2 separate regions of the Homo sapiens genome follow, and region 1 is linked to region 2. The links are contacts of gene promoters, found by promoter capture Hi-C in blood cells and fetal thymus (Javierre and others, 2016). All regions are on one chromosome and are shown on one strand. Each heading gives the region's core, a stretch centred on a gene start or on the middle of the fragment in contact. The rest is flanking DNA. Distances are from core to core; before and after follow the strand shown.

What was found. Contacts are between HindIII fragments. The CHiCAGO score rates a contact against its expected background, and 5 or more counts as called.
Region 1: a fragment that was not itself captured here is called in contact with the fragment with the promoter of CRIP3 in region 2 in 1 of 17 cell types (naive B cells); the score reaches 5.3 in naive B cells.

What each region holds. Positions count from the first base shown.
Region 1 is chr6:43,442,738-43,448,321 of GRCh38, forward strand. It overlaps ABCC10 (ATP binding cassette subfamily C member 10), which reads left to right. Exons shown (of 22, transcript NM_001198934.2): 10 at 233-422; 11 at 1,196-1,273; 12 at 1,422-1,616; 13 at 2,051-2,201; 14 at 2,388-2,577; 15 at 2,862-3,205; 16 at 3,540-3,709; 17 at 4,511-4,671; 18 at 4,947-5,200. Among named protein-coding and RNA genes, the nearest start is that of DLK2, 10 kb to the right of the region's middle. The HindIII fragment of the contact is 161 bases long and covers 1,388-1,548 here.
Region 2 is chr6:43,306,317-43,312,596 of GRCh38, forward strand. CRIP3 (cysteine rich protein 3) reads right to left here and starts at 2,510. Exons shown (of 8, transcript NM_206922.3): 1 at 2,434-2,510; 2 at 1,999-2,093; 3 at 1,523-1,580; 4 at 1,296-1,427; 5 at 130-201. The coding sequence starts at 2,476. It also overlaps the pseudogene RPL12P47. RefSeq lists an enhancer at 1,170-2,027. The HindIII fragment of the contact is 7,114 bases long and covers 1-4,933 here.

The DNA.
Region 1 (5,584 bases), core at 218-2,717, 140 kb after region 2:
AAAAAAAGTGTTATATGGGCTGAGGGCCTGGGACCTAGGAAAGCTGAGTGCTGGCCCTGGGGTGCTGTTCTTTCTTGCCTGAAGGGATGTCCACCCTCAGGTCTCACCTCCTTCTCTGCTAGTGTAGGGGTAGCCCCCAGAGTTTCTCTCAACTGTCTTCTCTGATCACTTTGAGATCTTCTCCGGAGAGCCTTTGGGTCCTGGTGCCCACGGTACCCTCACGTCTCCATAGGAAAAGGAGCTCTATCTCCTCGATGACCCTCTGGCCGCTGTGGATGCAGATGTGGCCAACCACCTGCTGCACAGGTGCATCCTGGGCATGCTGAGCTACACCACACGGCTGCTCTGCACCCACCGCACTGAGTACCTGGAGAGGGCTGACGCGGTGCTGCTGATGGAGGCCGGGCGCCTCATCCGGGCTGGTAATGGGGGCAGGAGCCCCGTGTGAGGGAGGTGTCTGCCCAGGTCTGGCAGGGGATTGTGAAGTACAGACTCTGCCCCCTGCTGCATGTGTGCCCTGAGCCAGTCATTGCTGCCTCCCGCCTTCACAGAACTGGTGTGAGGAACTGGGAGAACAGGAGGGAAAAGGAGTACGTTGGTAAAATGCCAGTGTATTTGGGACTCATGGGCTTTGTGACTGGGTGCTCTTGGGAACTTAAAGGCCCAGGGTCTCTGAGAACATTCTCATATCTTCAGAGAAGAGAAAGGAGTCAGGTTTAGAATGGTCTTTTTGTAAAAACAAAAATTTTTAAACTCTGAAAGATTTTTATGCAGAGGGATGTGACCACCTGCAAGTTTACTGGGAGAGAAATAGGAGGAAATGAAGCTCCAGCCAGATATTAGGAATTGAGCGAAGCATGAGAAAAAGCTCTGCAGTAATGAGAAGTAACCCTGGACAGAGTGGCAGGCATAGCTCTGGCGGTCCTCTTGGGGATGGACATTCGTCCCTCTCTGCTGGTCGGAATCAAGGTTTACAAGGATGGACTTGAGTCCTGCTCGAGGTCTAGGGGTATCCAGAGCAGGGTGGGTTAGAGAGGGAGGCCTAAGAGTCCTGCTCGAGGTCTAGGGGTATCCTGCTAGGGTGGGTTAGACGGGGAGGCCTGAGAGGATGAGAGGTGGGATCTGCACACGCACTGAGAAAGGCATAGTATAGACTCAGAACAGTCCTCTCCCAATCTCCCCTTCTACCCTCCAGGACCTCCCTCTGAGATTCTGCCACTGGTACAAGCTGTCCCCAAAGCCTGGGCTGAGAATGGACAAGAGTCTGACTCAGGTATGGCTCCCCAGTGGGAGAAAAGGGCTTGCTTTTCCCTGCCACACTGTAGAGCTTTTTCTACAACGGCTGCCCGCTCCTCTGAAATACTGAGTTTTCAGCTGGCACCCTGCAAGCTTAATTCTTCCATGACCCCTGATTCTCACAGCCACAGCCCAGTCAGTACAGAACCCAGAGAAAACAAAGGAGGGGCTGGAGGAGGAGCAGAGCACATCTGGTCGCCTGCTGCAGGAAGAAAGCAAGAAGGAGGGCGCCGTGGCCTTGCACGTGTACCAAGCTTACTGGAAGGCCGTGGGCCAGGGCTTGGCCTTAGCCATCCTCTTCTCTCTGCTTCTCATGCAAGGTGAGAGCGTGCCTGGGAGTCTCTTACATCGTAACGGCTGTGCTGTCTAGGTGCCCATTACCTTGCACTAATCATTACAAAGCCCAGAGACTCACCAAGCATGGGTCACAGCTGGGACAAAAGCCATACTCCTAATTCTGAGAGATGCCCAGGGGCCAGAGGCATGTGCTCTATAGCTGGCTTCTGTTCTGCCCCCTAGGTTAGCTCCCATTCTGCAAGTCTGAGATCCTGTTCTCCCCAGAGCTGAAGGGTGACGGGCCTATGAGAGAAGCCCACACTAGGGAGGATATGGGGTAGTGGCAGGGTGGGGAGGCCAGGCCAGGCGGATGGAGATGGGCAGGAACCAGAGGCAAGGGCGGAGAAAGGGGGCATTGGAATAGAATGAACAAGGGAGAGGAGCCTCTTACAGCTTTTTCCTTCCTGTCCCCACCCAGCCACGCGGAACGCTGCTGACTGGTGGCTCTCCCACTGGATCTCTCAGCTGAAGGCTGAGAATAGCTCCCAGGAGGCGCAACCCTCCACCAGCCCAGCTTCTATGGGGCTCTTCTCTCCGCAGCTGCTCCTCTTTTCCCCTGGAAACCTCTAGTGAGTGGCTGGGGCTGGGGGTAGGCCTGGTGCTCTCAGAGTGGTCGCCAGGCAGGGAGTGAGGGTTGTGGCCGGTATTCCAGATGCTGTGACTTCTGGAGGGTGGGAGAGATGGCATGGGGGAGGAGAAAGGACCCCCGAGTGGCCCTAGTTTTGGTTACCGACAGCCCCCTCCTCACCACCCAGCATCCCAGTGTTCCCACTGCCCAAAGCTGCCCCCAATGGCTCCTCAGACATCCGTTTCTACCTCACCGTGTATGCGACCATTGCTGGTGTAAATTCCCTCTGCACCCTTCTCCGGGCAGTGCTCTTTGCAGCAGGCACCCTTCAAGCAGCTGCCACTCTGCATCGCCGCCTGCTGCATCGAGTCCTTATGGTGAGGGGCTGGGACCTCGGGGGTAGGGGAGTGCAGTCCTAGCCCCTGTGGAGTGTCCTCCCAATACTCGGGCTCCACTGGGGATGGGAGAGTCTTTCCTGCCCTGGGATATTCTTCCTCAACCTCTGCCAATCTCTCTTCTCTGCCCCCAAATTCTGGGGATATTTTAGTCCTTCCCTATTCTCTATCTTGGGCCTTCCCCTCCACCCCACCTCCCCCAGTGCTGCCTGCCAACCCCTCTTCTGCCAGACTCTGCCCTGGCCCAATCAGCGTCCTTCTCCCAGGCACCAGTGACTTTCTTCAATGCCACACCCACGGGCCGGATCCTAAACCGCTTCTCCTCTGATGTGGCCTGTGCGGATGACAGCCTGCCCTTCATCCTCAACATCCTCCTGGCCAACGCGGCAGGCCTGCTGGGGCTCCTGGCCGTGCTGGGCTCTGGCCTGCCCTGGCTGCTGCTCCTGCTGCCGCCTTTGAGCATCATGTACTATCACGTGCAGCGCCACTACAGGGCCTCCTCACGGGAGCTGCGGCGCCTGGGCAGCCTCACCCTGTCTCCACTGTATAGCCATCTGGCCGATACCTTGGCTGGCCTCTCTGTGCTCCGGGCCACAGGGGCCACCTACAGGTGTGTGAACCAGAGCCCAGGGGGATGAGGTGTTGGGGGGAGAGGAAAAGAGAGACCCCCAAGAAGAGGAATATGCAGGGTATGGTTGGTTCAGCCCTCCTGGGGACAAGGGATGGGGAAGGAGGAAAGCAACAGAAGAAGGAGATAGGGAGGCAGAGTGGACCCCCACTTTGAAAGAGCACACTGGCATCTGCAGCCCTGAGGGAGGCCTGTGGGTATACAGACCAGCTCCCAAGAAGGAGCTGCTCAATAAGGGCCTTCCCTGTTGAGGCCCTGAGGCTGGGTGGCTCAGGGCAACAGTGGAGTGGCTTCACATCCCTCTGGCCTTCCCTAGGTTTGAGGAGGAGAACCTGCGACTCCTTGAGCTAAACCAGAGGTGCCAGTTTGCCACCAGTGCCACAATGCAGTGGCTGGACATTCGGCTACAGCTCATGGGGGCGGCAGTGGTCAGCGCTATCGCAGGCATCGCTCTGGTGCAGCACCAGCAGGGCCTCGCTAACCCAGGTGCCACCCAGGACCCCTCACCCCTACCTCATCCACAAGTTAGTCCACCGCTCTCCCAGATCTCTCCCTGCACCATCCCCCCAACATTTTCACCTCCCACCCAGGGTTCCCTGTGAGGATGTATCATGATTATCATCATCACCCCCGTTTGGAGTTGAGGAGACAATCCCCAGGAGGGACTTGCCCAGGTGGTGGTGGCTTGGGGACTAGAATGAGTCTTCTGAGCTGCTGGTCTCAGTCCCTTCCCTGCTTCCACCCCGTCCCCACCACACTGCCCCAGCCCGCTTCAGTCTCCCACATGCCGTCCCTCCCAGCTTCTCCAGGCCCACCCCCTGCCCTGCATCTGGCCTCCTGTGCTCCTGGCTAGGTCCTATCACCCTCCTGCTTCTCTGTTGCTTTTTTGTTTTGTTTTTTTTTTTGAGATGGAGTCTCGCTCTGTTGCCCAGGCTGGAGTGCAGTGGCACGATCTCGGCTCACTGCAACCTCTGCCTCCTGGGTTCAAGCAATTCTCCTGTCTCAGCCTCCCAAGTAGCTGGGATTACAGGCGCCTGCCACCACGCCCAGCTAATTTTTGTATTTTTAGTAGAGACAGGGTTTCACCATGTTGGCCAGGCTGGTCTCAAACTCCTGACCTCGTGATCCACCTGCCTTGGCCTCCCAAAGTGCTGGAATTACAGGCGTGAGCCACCGCGCCCAGCCTCTGTTGCTTCCTTTAAATGCCAGCAGTCCACAGCCTGGGGAGTCTCCCACAAACGTCCCGGTGTCCAAGCTCTCCCAGCAGCTGGTACTTCTCTCCCCCAGGGCTGGTGGGCTTGTCGCTGTCTTATGCCCTGTCCCTGACGGGCCTGCTCTCGGGCCTGGTGAGCAGCTTCACACAGACAGAGGCCATGCTGGTGAGCGTCGAGCGGCTGGAAGAGTACACCTGTGACCTGCCCCAGGAACCCCAGGGCCAGCCACTGCAGGTGGGCCTGTACCCCCACCCCAGGCCAAAGCTCTGGAACCCTGAAGGCCCCAGTCTCCCTCACAATTCCTTTCTTTTTGCCCACCCATCTTTCTCAGCTCCCATAACCTCTCTTCATGATGACCACAATTCTTCACCATGTCCCTTCTTCCCCATCTCTCATTCTCTCATTCCTCTCACACTGTCCATTTCTCATTATTCTCCCCTCCTCACCATCGCTCCTCATCTCCCCTATCTCCCTTTCCCCGTCTGTCTCCCACCCATGGACCCCACCAGCTGGGCACCGGCTGGCTGACCCAGGGGGGCGTGGAGTTCCAGGACGTGGTGTTGGCGTACCGGCCAGGGCTGCCGAATGCCCTGGATGGAGTGACCTTCTGCGTGCAGCCTGGAGAGAAGTTGGGCATCGTGGGCCGCACAGGCTCCGGCAAGTCTTCCCTGTTGTTGGTGCTCTTCCGGCTGCTAGAGCCCAGTTCAGGGCGAGTGCTGCTGGACGGCGTGGACACCAGCCAGCTGGAGCTGGCCCAGCTCAGGTCTGGGGGAGATGGACTTGGGAGGGGAAGGGGGAACCAGAACTACTGGCACTTAGAGGAGGGCATAGCCAGGAAGGCTTTATATAAACTCACAGCAGCCAGGGCTGATCAGGGGGCTGAAATGGAGGACAGGATGAGCAGGCAAGGACAGCGAACTCCTAGTGCCCAGGTCCAGATTCATGGCTGGTGATCTCAAGGTCTTCCTCGCCCTGACCCAGGCCACCTTTCCAGCTTCATCTTTCTTGTACTTCCTACCATACACCCTCCACTCTTGTGCCCCAAGATACTGATCCCCTGAGTCCTAGGCTCAGCAGGCAGTGCTTCAGACAGCTTGAGACCTGAACCGGTTGCCCTTGGCTTCAGGTGGCCTCACTGGAGGGTATA
Region 2 (6,280 bases), core at 1,260-3,759:
GTGGTGGAAAGAAGTGGTAATGCTTCCATTCTAGGGGTAGAGTAGGGAGACCTACCTGCCTTGGATCACCTCCCTCCCCCTTGCTGCCCACCCTGTATCCCCCTCCCCAAGTTTTCCACTGTTACTTACCAAAATAGACGGGCTCCCCACAGCCAGGGCACAGCGAGGTCTCCCCAGTGAATGTCTTCATATGGGGAGGGCCTTTAAAGGGGAAGAGGCCCTGGCTATGTCTGAGGTGGAGATGCCCACCAGCACCTGCCTGCATATGGTGCTGTCCTCTTTCAAAAGCCATGCTCATTCCAGAGTGCCCCACCCAGGCGCCCAAGAGTCTGCCTTCTACAGGCCCAGAGCTGAGCCCCCTCTGACTCCACCTCCTGCCCCATCCCTATGTGTATTAGGGACTATCTGCTTCCTTCTCCTGCTTCCTTTTCATCCTCCCAGGGGCTCACGTACCCACCATCCCAACCCTGTTAGCAACTCAATCCTCAGGAAACTTGAGCTGATATAGGAGCTGGCCACAGCACGGGTGTCAGGTGTTGGGGAGCACAGTGTCATTGCCTACTTCAGGGAATGGAGGGAAAGAACAGGGACCAGAGGAGAAAAGTTGAAGAATATGAGAGGCTGGCCTTATCCCAATGACTCCTCTCCTTTAGATCATTCCTTCCATGGCCCTGGCCTGGGACAGACCTAAGTTCCTGGCCAGCTTTGCCTCTGACTAGCTTTGTGGATGGACAGTCATTTGCCCTGTCTGGATCTCACTTTCCTCACCTGTAACACACGAGGAGAGGGGATAATGCCATCTGCCCAATTAACCTCTTTTTTTTTTTTTTTTTTTTTTTTTGAGATGGAGTCTCGCTCTGTTGCCCAGGCTGGAGTGCAATGGCATGACCTTGACTCACTGCAACCTCCGCCTCCTGGGTTCAAATGATTCTCCTGCCTCAGCCTCCCAAGTAGCTGGGATTACAGGCATGAGCCACCACACCTGGCTAATTTTTGTATTTTTAGTAGAGATGGGATTTCACCATGCTGGCCAGGCTGGTCTCGAACTCCTGACCTCATGATCCACCTGCCTCGGCCTCCCAACAATTTACCTCTTAACTCAGCAGCTCACATGAGGGAATAGAAAGAAAGAAAGAAAAAAAAAGCGGGGAGTAGATAGAGAAGACTTTGCCAAGAATGAAGTTGTGAGAATGTGAAGCAGAGGGCTGGATAGGAGACTGCCACCTGGCCCAACCTCCGCTCCAGCTTGGGGAAGGGTCGGGAGGAGGACTGGGAGGAGCTGAGCCCAGCCTTACTTTTCTTGCCTTGGGGGAGGCCAGTCCTTGGCCTGGGAGGGCTGAAGCTGCTGGGGCTGAGAGGAGTGGTGCAGCCAGGGCTGGGAGTGGGGGGATTGTACAAGTAGGAGCCTACACCACCAATGTTCACCCCTGAAGAGAGAATAGGGGAGGTCAGGCTTGAGCCCCCAGCTCCCAGCCACAAGGAGGGTTCTGCTGACCCATGGCCCCTTAAGGCTGGTACTTACCCCTGGGTCCAAAGAGAGCCCCATAGCATGGCTTGTGGCAGTATGGCCTCCCATTGTGCTGGGCACAAGCAGAGGGAAGTGGGTTACTCAAGGCCAGCGGGAGCCATGCCCCACAGGCCTTCACCCCAGACAGGCTGCCAGGTGTGTCTGTCCACTGGCTGAGTCTGGTGGGCCTGGGAGGGGTGGGGGATGGGCTGGCATGCCAGCATTTCCACTGTGGTCAAGGGAGGAAGAGCAAGAGCAGCTCAGAAGGTGACGCTGCTTCCCACTCACCCTGATCCCCAAAACCATGGGATCCACAGTCACGACCCAGGTTCCCAAATTCCTGGCTGGTGTGGGGTCCACCAGGTGGGCGGCCTTGGGGTTGGCTACTGAGGTTCCCTTTGGCAGGCCTCCAGTGCTGAAGTTGGGGGCTGGTGCCTGGGGGGTGGGAGGCAGTGATGTAAACAGGGCAGTGCTCCCTGGCCAGGTCTTACCTCTGCATGCCCGCCAGGGGACAGGATGCTGTGGCAGCGCTCACATTTCAGGCAGAAGCGGTGCCAGTTCTTGCCCAGGGAGCTCACCTTCTCAGCTGTGGAGGACAAAGTGGAACCGAGCTGCGAGGAGCCTGTCCAAGCATAGGGCCCCTCCTTTCCCTCTTCGGCCCTCTAGGGAATTAGGTTGGCCTGCCCTGCTTCCTGGAGATGAGTGTCTCCAGGAGGCCAGCTCCATCCCGCTCCGGTTTCACACTCCCCACAGAGCTCTCAGAGGAAGGGAGAAGACCCGAGTGGGAGCGGGTGGTGCGGAGACTACCAGCCGCTGCAGGTGAAAAGGGTGTCTGGGACTACACTGTGGCTAGCCCTCCGCGTCCTCAGGGAATCCAGCGGCTCCCATTCGCCCCATCTTCTCCCCCTCCGCAGCCCGGGCCTCACCGAAGAAAACAGGTTGCTGGCAACGCGGACAGGTCCAGCTCATAGCTCCGCTCCAGGCAGCGCACGCGGCACACAGTAGGTACGCCGCTGCGGCTCAGTTCCGCCCCCTCCGCAGGCTCCACCCACGGCTCAGCTTTGAGCCTCCCTGGGCGGAATCCGCGGTTCCTCGGCGCTCATTGGTTATCAGAAATTTAGAACCACTCCACTTGGGAGACAAAGGGCTATTTCGCTGTTACTTCAAAGAGCATTAAAGCCTCGGTCAGACCCACGGGGAGGAGAGAGGATCTTGAAGCCGTGGACTCCAGACTAGGAAGGCACATGTGTAACGAAGACACCTGGACAGGGAGCTCTACTAGTTTCTGGAGCGGTAAGGACAGGAAAAATGTCCACAGTGCAGACATCATTAAAACACTACTCTCTCCAAAGCGAGGGAGTAGGCATTCTTTGAAATGCAAAATTCCACCTTGGCAGTATAGCAAGTGGTTGAAAGCAACAAAATCTGGAGCCCGTCTCTGGTACCCTACTCTTTGACTTCAGGCAAATTACTGAACCTCCCTCTCTGCCTCCATTTTCTCATCTGTGCAATGAGTATGATAACAGTCTCTGCCTCATAGGATTGTTATGAGAGTTAAATAGGTTAATACATGTAGAGTGCCCAAACAGCGCCTGGCATGTAAACGCTGTAACAGCTATAGCTATCACTATGATGGATCCCTTAATGAACTCAAGACTCGGTTTGGAAGCCTCAGAACATGGTCTGTATACAATCGTTTACTCCTAAAGCTGTAGGGTGGCTGGACACAGTGGCTGACACCTGTAATCCCAGCACTTTGGGAGGCCAAGGTGGGCGGATCGCCTGAGGTCAGGAGTCCAAGACCAGCCTGGCCATCGAGGCGAAACTGCGTCTCTACTAAAAATACAAAAATTAGCTGGGCGTGGTGGCGCATGCCTGTAATCTCAGCTACTCGGGAGGCTGAGGCAGGAGAATCGCATGAACCGGGAGGTGTGGAGGTTGCAGTGAGCCGAGATCGCACCACTGTACTCCAGCCTGGGGGACAAGAGCGAGACTCCATCTCAAAATAAATAAATAAATAAAAATGAAAACCAACTACACATTTCTAATCTGGTTTGCTTTAAAATTTTTAAATATTTGTGTTTTTAATGAATGTATTTATTTGAGGCAGGGTCTCTGTTGCCCAGGCTGGAATGTAGTGGTGCATCGTAGCTCACTGCAGTCTCCACCTGCCCGGCTCAAGCGATCCTCTCACTTTAGCCTCTGGAGTAGCTGGGACTACAGACACATGCCACCACACCTGGCTAATTTTTGTATTTTTTGTAGAGATGGGGTTTTGCCATGTTGCCCAGGCTGGTCTCGAATTTCTGGGCTCAAGCGATCCACCTGCCTGGGCCTCCCTAAGTGCTGGGATTACAGGTATATGCCCCCATGCCCAGATAAATATTTGTTAAAAGTAGTTCAATAGACTCTCTGGCACCATTAAAGAGATCCTGGGGACTGCCCAGTCTGTGGGCTGTAATGTTGATGGCCGCCACCCTCATGACATCATAGATGATATCAACAGTGGTTCTGTGGAATGCCCAGCCAGTTAAGCACAAAGGAAAATATTTCAATAAAGGATCATTTGACAACTGGTGGAAAAAAAAAAAAGTAGTTCAATAGTGCTTCAAAGGATATTTCAAGAAATTTAAATCCAGAGAATGGAAGAAATATTTGCAAATCTGATAAGGATCTAGTAACCAGATTATATAAATAACTTATAATGCAATAACAAAAAGACAACCCAATTAAAAGTGAGCAAAGTATTTGAATAGATGTTTTTCTAGAGATACACAAATGGCCAATAAGCACATGAAGAGATGCTGAATATCAATAGTCATTAGGGAAATGCAAATTAGGACCACAATGAGATACCATTTTATACTGACTAGGATGGTTATAATTAAAGAGACAAATATTGGCAAGAATGTGGCAAAATTGGATCCCTCATACATTGTTGGTGGCAACATAAAATGGTGTGGCCACATTGGACAACAGTCTGGCAGTTCCTCAAAAAGTTAAACATAGAGTTACCATATGACTCAGCAATTCCACTTCCAGGTTTATACCCAGGTATATAAGAGAAATGAAAACATATGTCTATACAAAAACTTGTACATGAATGTTCATAGCAGGACTATTTACAATAGTCAAAAGGTAGAAACAGCCCAAAAGTTCATTAACTGATAATGGATAAACAATATGTAGTATATCTGTATGATAGAATATTGCTCAACTGTAAAAAAGAATGTAATACTGATGCATGTTACAACACAGGTAAACCATAAAAACATTAAGTAAGAAAAGCAAGACACAAGAGGCCACATATCATATGAATCAATTCATATGAAATATTTAGAATAGGTAAATCCACAGAGACAGACAGTAGATTAGTGGTTGGCCAGTCAAGGAGATGGAATTGGAAATGTCCACTAATGGGTTCGAAGCTTCTCTATGGGAAGATAAAAATGTTCTGGAATTAGATAGCAGTAATGTTTGTACAACCTTGGAAATATACTAAAAAGCATGAACTGTAGACTTTAAAAAGGCGAATTTTATGGTATATGCGTAATGTCTTAACAACAACAACAACAACAACAATAGAACCTGAAGAAAACTAAAGAAAAAAGGCGGCCAGAAGTGGTGGCTTACGCCTGGTCCCAGCACTTTGGGAAGCTGAGGCAGGTGGACCACTTGAGCCTAGGAGTTAGAGACCAGCCTGGGCAACATGGCGAACCTCATCTCTACAAAAAATCAGCTGGGCTTGGTGGCATGTGCCTGCGAGGCTGAGGTGAGAGAATCACCTGAGCCCGGGAAGTTGAGGCTGTAGTGAGCTGAGATCACGCCACTGCACTCCAGCCTGGGCAACAGAGTGAGACTGTCTCAAAAAAAAAAAAAAAAAAAGGCAGGGGGACTGGGGGGAAAGGTAGCCAATGAAGAGCTGGAGGGAAGAGCTGATAAACTTGTGCCAGTGTCCCAGCAGAGGAGACAATAATCAATCCCTCTATGAAGGATGGAAGTGAAACCGAGTTTTCTTGAGTAAGTTCCTTTGTTACATCAAATCCGTTGAGGAAGGGCTTGCACCAAATTCATCAATGGACTGCAGTGCTGTGCTCTGCTAGGTGAAAGGCGCACTGTCTTAAGTGTCTCCTCTTGGGACATCAGTTCCTTCATCTGGGTAATGGGGTAGGGACTGGGGTCTATGAACTTCCACTGGATATTCCTGTTCCTGAATTGTCTCCATCAATCCTTTTTACTTATAACACTTGTTTTATCATTCTTAAGTTCTAAGGGTAGAAGCCTTCCACACTGTAATTTTTCTACACTTTCTCATTATTTGTTTCTTGTTTCAGGGAATATTTCAAGATGCTTAGTTTTATAACTGTTTCTTGAAAGGCTTCTTCTTTAACAAATTTGAAAAATATTAGTTTTAGCTTCCACTGAATTTTCCTGTCTTGTTTCTGCCTCTCATTTCTTGTTTTTTTTTTTTCTTTTCTTTTTTTTTTTTTTTTTTGAGACAGAGTCTCGCTCTGTTGCCCAGGCTGGAGTGCAGTGGTGCGTTCTCGACTCACTGCAACCTCTGCCTCCTGGGTTCAGGTAATTCTCCTGTCTCAGCCTCCTGAGTAGCTGGGACTACAGGTGCGCGCCACCACGCCCAGCTAATTTTTGTATTTTTAGTAGAGACGGGGTTTCACCATGTTGGCCAGGCTGGTCTCGAACTCCTCCTGACCTCAAGTGATCCATGTGCCTCGGCCTCCCAAAGTGCTGAGATTACATGTGTGAGCCACCGTG